Linked DNA regions of Homo sapiens: region 2 is linked to region 1. Evidence: promoter capture Hi-C in human tissues and cell types (Jung and others, 2019). All regions are on one chromosome and are shown on one strand. Each heading gives the region's core, a stretch centred on a gene start or on the middle of the fragment in contact. The rest is flanking DNA. Distances are from core to core; before and after follow the strand shown. Region 1 holds the start of CCDC81 (coiled-coil domain containing 81). Region 2 has its middle 30 kb from the start of PRSS23.

What was found. Contacts are between HindIII fragments. The study calls those that stand out against the background at their distance.
Region 2: a contact is called between a fragment that was not itself captured here and the fragment with the promoter of CCDC81 in region 1, in 1 of the 25 tissues and cell types used here (IMR-90 fibroblasts).

The regions. Positions count from the first base shown.
Region 1 is chr11:86,373,472-86,376,772 of GRCh38, reverse strand. It overlaps CCDC81 (coiled-coil domain containing 81), which reads right to left and starts at 1,886. Exons shown (of 15, transcript NM_001156474.2): 1 at 1,531-1,886. The coding sequence starts at 1,609. The region is part of intron 2 of LOC105369421 (a long non-coding RNA gene); the gene reads left to right. RefSeq lists a silencer at 1,852-2,146. The HindIII fragment of the contact is 17,191 bases long and covers 1-3,301 here.
Region 2 is chr11:86,828,600-86,832,068 of GRCh38, reverse strand. It overlaps a transcript of PRSS23 not described here. Among named protein-coding and RNA genes, the nearest start is that of PRSS23, 30 kb to the right of the region's middle. The HindIII fragment of the contact is 4,294 bases long and covers 1-3,469 here.

The DNA of each region.
Region 1 (3,301 bases), core at 637-3,136:
TGTACCACTCCGGTGAGGGATGTTGACAATGGGAGAGTCTATCCAAGTGTAGGATTAGACAGTATGTGGGACATCTCTGTCTGATATGGTTAGGCTTTGTTTCCCCACCCAAATCTCATCTTGAATTGTAATCCCTAGGTGTTGAGGGAGAGGCCTGGTGGGAGGGGATTGGATCCTGGGAGCAGTTTCCCCCATGCTGTTCTCATGATGGTGAGGGATTTCTCACAAGATCTGAGAGTTTTATAAATGGCAGTTTCCCCTGGTCCCCCGGGCTTCTCTCTCTCTCTCTCTCCTGCCGTCATGTAAGACATGCCTGCTTCCCCTTCTGCCATGATTTTAAGTTTCCTGAGGGCTCCCCCAGCCATGAAGAACTGTGAGTCAATTAAACCTCTTTCCTTTATAATGACCCAGTCTGGGATAGTATCTTCATAGCAGTGTACAAATAAACTAATATATTGTCCCTCCTTCTTAATTTACTGTGAATCTACAACTACCCTAAAAAATCATCTTTAAAAAAAGTTCTTACTGTACCATTTACCTCCTCCCTGGTATCATTTACCTAAATTGTAAATTTGCATTGATTTGTGTGATTATTTGATTAATGTGCATCTTCCCCACTAAACAGTAAATTCCAAGATGTTTGTTCACCGTAAGTTAACTAGTGCTCAGCATATAGCAGGGTTTCAGAATTCCTTGAATGACTATACATAAATTTACAAATATAGCAAATGTTTTTAAATTCATTAAGCCATTATCTTCAATGCATCTTTCAGGATGATTTGAGAGGAAAAGATAGGAGTGATGCAGGGGAAGAGAAAGAAGCAGCCATTCCTATTTGTTTTCTGCGGTCATTTGGTTAAAGCCTAAGCAACATCTCTAAGTTACAATGGTTTGATAATAATGAGTTTGCATTCCTGCAGCACCTCTCTTCTCCTGTGGTTTGCAGACAGATCTCAGCCTCACTTTGGGGTGACTCTTCTACAAACGATGCTAAAAACAGATCTTGTCTTGCTACTAACCAAGCCTAATGAGTTTTCTCTGAGAAGGTGCCAGGTCCCCTTCCAAAGTACTTACCCTGTAGCTTTTTATGATCATCTCATTTTCTTAATACAACGGCATGATGTCAAAGGCAACAAAATCAACCGTCTTTGCATGAACTCTCAAAAGGAGCCATTTAGGGTCCCTGCATCTCTTTTCTCTAGGTAGGCAAAAGGGTTGTGATCCATCCCAGCGAGTGGTGTGGGAGTGGCTGTTTTTACCTAACCTTTATTGAGCACTTACTTTGTGCTAGTCCGTTTATTGAGCACTTACTTTGTGCTGTCTACGCATCCCCTGGTTTAATCAAAACCAGAAAAGGGTCTCTGGGCGTCCAACGTGGGCAGGATGTGATTACCAGCTGGTTGTCAAGGCAACTTAGCCACGGCAGGCCAGGCCTGAGCCAGGGAATTGGGAAGTGGGTCCCCCCGCCTCCCCTGCAAGCAGATGAAGATTCAATCCCCAGGGCCACCCCCTGCTACCCAACACGCTTACCCTCCTGGCTCAGCGAGGGCAGAGTGGGCAGCACCTGCCTGCCCAGGTCCTGCAGGGCACGGGCGATCGTATCCAACATCTCCAATTTCCAGGTGACTCCGTACTGAATGTTCGATGGGTCTCTTCTTTCTTATATGGAATGTGCACAAAAATAATTTTCCCACCCTCCAGCCCCTTCTCCACGGAGCTTTGGATGTGCCTTAAAAATAAGAGTGACGAAAATCTTGAACTTCTTGACTCTTTTTCTTCTTTCTTAAATAAACTTAAACATTGGTTCTCGCCGTCCCTCCCCACTGCTCTGGCTCTCGGGCAGCTCCCACAGCAAGAGCCGCAGGAACTGATGTCCGGCACCGAGTGAGAGTGTGCAGACCCGCGCCCTCCTGACCAACGAGAGACCCAATGAGGGGTGAGCTGCAGCCTCGAGGAAGGGAGGGGCACCAGGGAGAATAGGCCCGGCAGAGGGAAGGGCGCGTTGCTGGGACGCGAGAAAGGCTCGCTCGGTTGCTAAGGCGTCAAGGCTGGGATTCGACCTCACCCCCTTAGATGGGCGGCTTCCAGGTTGCCCAGGCGATTCAGAAGCTCGAGGCAGCGAGGTTGGAAGTAACTTAAAAATAAATAAATAATGGGTTTTTACTTCTCTGACCCCGGGCAGCGAAGAAACGTGGTTAGAGTGGTAGTTTTTGTACCTTGGACAAATCTAGGAATGCCTTTTGCCCAGAGAGATCGATATTTGAGTCTCCAGATCTGTTTGAGAGTTTGAGTTTGAGCTGGAATTTGTTTCTTGGTTTGCTTTTCCCTGGGCTCTCTTCCTAGGAAATGGAGAGCTGGAGAAGTGGGGAGGAGGGAATTGACTTTTTTTAAACTACAGTCATTTCCCCCTTTTCTCTACATGTCACCAATCTCATCCTGAAGAATTGCGTGCATGCTCTCCCCTCTGCTGGTAATTATCACAAGCTGAACATACCTATGCAAAACCCATCCAGGTCAAAAAATAGAATGCTAGCACATTGCACAGATCAGCACTTCATTACCCCTCCAGTCATTAGCCAACACATACTGCAGATTCATTTTGCCTGTTGAATCTTTGGAATCATATAGTATGTATCCTTTTCTGTCTGGCTCTATTCAAATTCACATTATGTTTATGAGGTTCATCCATAGTTTCTATGGTAATAATTTCTTCATTTACACTGTTGCATATTATTCCTTTTTATGAGTATGGCACAATTTATGCATTCCACTGTTGAAGGGCATTTGCGTTGTTTCCCTTTGAGGCTACTGGGAATAAGGCTGCTGCAAACAGTCTCACAGAACACTTTTGACAGATAGATGTACTCATTTCTGATGTGTATATAACTAGGAGTAGATTCATGGGTCATGAGAAATGCATATGATCAATTTTAATAGATAATGCCAGCTAATTTTTAGTGGCAATATCAGCATTATTGTTCCACATTAAGATAATGGAATTATAAAAATAATTGTTTTACAATACATTAGATTTTGAATTAAATATAGTGGTACTTTTAATCTCTAGAAAAGCTGTCTTCAGTTCCAGAAGATGGTGGTGGATGCTAATTATTAGTGAATTGTAGATGGCTAAAGGAAGCTGTAAAAAGAATAAGGACAAAGACTTTTCTTCCAAGGTTTTACTTTCCTTTTGTCAAAGGTCTCTTGACAAAAGAGGCTGTGTAGATACATGTAACCCTGTGTTGACTAGAAACTTTTAATGAGCTATAAATATTATATATCCTGAAAATACATACTTTTC
Region 2 (3,469 bases), core at 863-3,362, 460 kb before region 1:
CATCCCCTGTGACATTAGGAGTAACATTTACCTCGGATATTATGAGTAATATCACGGGAGTTACACCATCTCGAACATTAGGAGTAAGGTCCCCCTAGGATATTACGAATAATATCACAGGGTGTACACACACTGGAACATGAGGAGTAACATCATTCCGGAATATTGTGAATAATATCACAAGGTGCACATCACCTGTGACATTAGGAGGAACACTGGCATAGGATATTACAAATAATATGACAGGGTGTATACCCGCTGCGACACTAGGAGTAACATCTCTCTAGAATATTAGAAATAATATCACAAGGTGTACAAGCATTATGACATTGGTAGTAACATACCTTTAGGATATTATGAATAACATCACAGTGTGTACACCCCCTGTGACATTAGGAGTAACATCCCCTAGAATATTAGGAATGATATCACAGGGCGTACACCCCCTGTGACATTAGTAGTAACATTCCCCTAGGATATTATGAATAATATTACAGGGTGTAGAGCCCCGGTGATATTAAGAGTAACATTTCTATAGGCTATTACGAATAATATCACGGTGTGTATACCACGTGTAACATTAAAAGTAACATCCCCCAAAACTATTACAAAAAATTTCACAGGGGGTACACCTGCTATGACATTAGGAGTATCATCCCACTAGGATATTACAAAAAATATCACAGGGTGTACACACCCTGTGACATGAGGAGTAACAACTTTCTAGGATATTACGAATAATACAAAAAGGTGTAAACCCGCTATGACATTAGGAGTAATATTCCCTTAGGATATTACGAATAATACAAAAAGGTGTAAACCCGCTATGACATTAGGAGTAATATTCCCTTAGGATATTATGAATAATATCGCAGGGTGTACAAGCATTGTGACATTAGTAATAACATCCTGCTAGGATATAAAAAATAATATCACGGAGTGTACACCTTCTGTGACATTAGGAATAACATCCGCCTAGGATATTACGAATAGTATTACAAGTTGTAAACCCCGTTGACATTAGGAGAAACATCCCCCTAGGATATTCCAAATAATATCACTGGGTGTACACGCCTGTGACATTAGGAGTAACATCCGTGTAGCACATTATGTATAATATCACAGTTTGTAAACCCCCTGTGACTTTAAAAGTAACATCCCCATAGAATATTTCAAATGATGTCACAGGGTGTACACCCCTGATGACATTAGGAGGAACATCTCCCTAGGATATCATGAATAATATCACAGGGTGTACACCCAGTGAGATATTAGGAGTAATATCTTCCTAGGATATTACAAATAATGTTAAAGGGTGTACACCTCTGTGATATTAGTAGTAATGTCTCCCTAGGATATTACGAATAATATTACGGGGTGTATAGCCCCTGTGATATGAGGAGCAACACTTCTATAGGATATTACAGAGTCAAGCCAAGATGGCCGAATAGGAACAGCTCTGGTCTACAGCTCCCAGCATGAGCGACACAGAAGATGGGTGATTTCTGCATTTCCATCTGAGGTACCAGGTTCACCTCACTAGGGAGTGCCAGACAGTGGGCACAGGTCAGTGGGTGCAGTGCACCATGTGCGAGCTGAAGCAGGGCGAGGCACTGCCTCACTTGGGAAGCGCAAAGGGTCAGGGAGTTCCCTTTTCTAGTCAAAGAAAGGGGTGACAGATGGCACCTGGAAAATCGGGTCACTCCCACCCTAATACTGCGCTTTTCCGACAGGCTTAAAAAACGATGCACAAGGAGATTATATCCCGCACCTGGCTCGGAGGGTCCTATGCCCATGGAGTCTCGCTGATTGCTAGCACAGCAGTCTGAGATCAAACTGCAAGGTGGCAGTGAGGCTGGGGGAGGGGCGCCCACCATTGCCCGGGCTTGCTTAGGTAAACAAAGCAGCTGGGAAGCTCGAGCTGGGTGGAGCCCACCACAGCTCAAGGAGGCCTGCCTGCCTCTGTAGGCTCCACCTCTGGGGGCAGGGCACAGACAAACAAAAAGACAGCAGTAACCTCTGCAGACTTAAATGTCCCTGTCTGACAGCTTTGAAGAGAGCAGTGGTTCTCCCAGCACGCAGCTGGAGATCTGAGGACGGGCAGACTGCCTCCTCAAGTGGGTCCCTGACCCCTGACACCCGAGCAGCCTAACTGGGAGGCACCCCCCAGTAGGGGCAGACTGACACCTCACACGGCCAAGTACTCCTCTGAGACAAAACTTCCAGAGGAACGATCAGACAGCAGCATTCGTGGTTCACGAAAATCCCCTGTTCTGCAGCCACCGCTGCTGGTACCCAGGCAAACAGGGTCTGCAGTGGACCTCTAGCAAACTCCAACAGACCTGCAGCTGAGGGTCCTGTCTCTTAGAAGGAAAACTAACAAACAGAAAGGACATCCACACCAAAAACCCATCTGTACATCACCATCATCAAAGACAAAAAGTAGATAAAACCACAAAGATGGGGAAAAAACAGAGCAGAAAAACTGGAAACTCTAAAAAGCAGAGCACCTCTCCTCCTCCAAAGGAACGCAGCTTCTCACCAGCAACGGAACAAAGCTGGACAGAGAATGACTTTGACGAGTTGAGAGAAGGCTTCAGACAATCAAACTATGAGCTACAGGAGGAAATTCAAACCAAAGGCAAAGAAGTTGAAAACTTTGAAAAAAATTTAGACGAATGTATAACTAGAATAACCAATACAGAGAAGTGCTTAAAGGAGCTGACGGAGCTGAAAGCCAAAGCTCGAGAACTACATGAAGAATGCAGAAGCCTCAGGAGCCGATGTGATCAACTTGAAGAAAGGATATCAGTGATGGAAGATGAAATGAATGAAATGAAGCGAGAAGGGAAGTTTAGAGAAAAAAGAATAAAAAGAAACGAACAAAGCCTCCAAGAAATATGGGACTATGTGAAAAGACCAAATCTACATCTGACTGGTGTACCTGAAAGTGACGGGGAGAATGGAACCAAGTTGGAAAATACTCTGCAGGTCATTATCCAGGACAACTTCCCAATATAGCAAGGCAGGCCAACATTCAGATTCAGGAAATACAGAGAACGCCACAAAGATACTCCTCGAGAAGAGCAACTCCAAGACACATAATTGTCAGATTCACCAAAGTTGAAATGAAGGAAAAAATGTTAAGGGCAGCCAGAGAGAAAGGTTGGGTTACCCACAAACGGAAGCCCATCAGACTAACAGCGGATCTCTCGGCAGAAACTCTACAAGCCAGAAGAGAGTGGGGGCCAATATTCAACACTCTTAAAGAAAAGAATTTTCAACCCAGAATTTCATATCCAGCCAAACTAAGCTTCATAAGTGAAGGAGAAATAAAATACTTTACAGACGAGCAAATGCCGAGAGATTCTGTCACCACCAAGCCTGCCCTAAAAGAGCTCCTGAAGGAAGCACTAAACATGGAAAGGCACAACCGGTACCAGCCGCTGCAAAATCATGCCAAATTGTA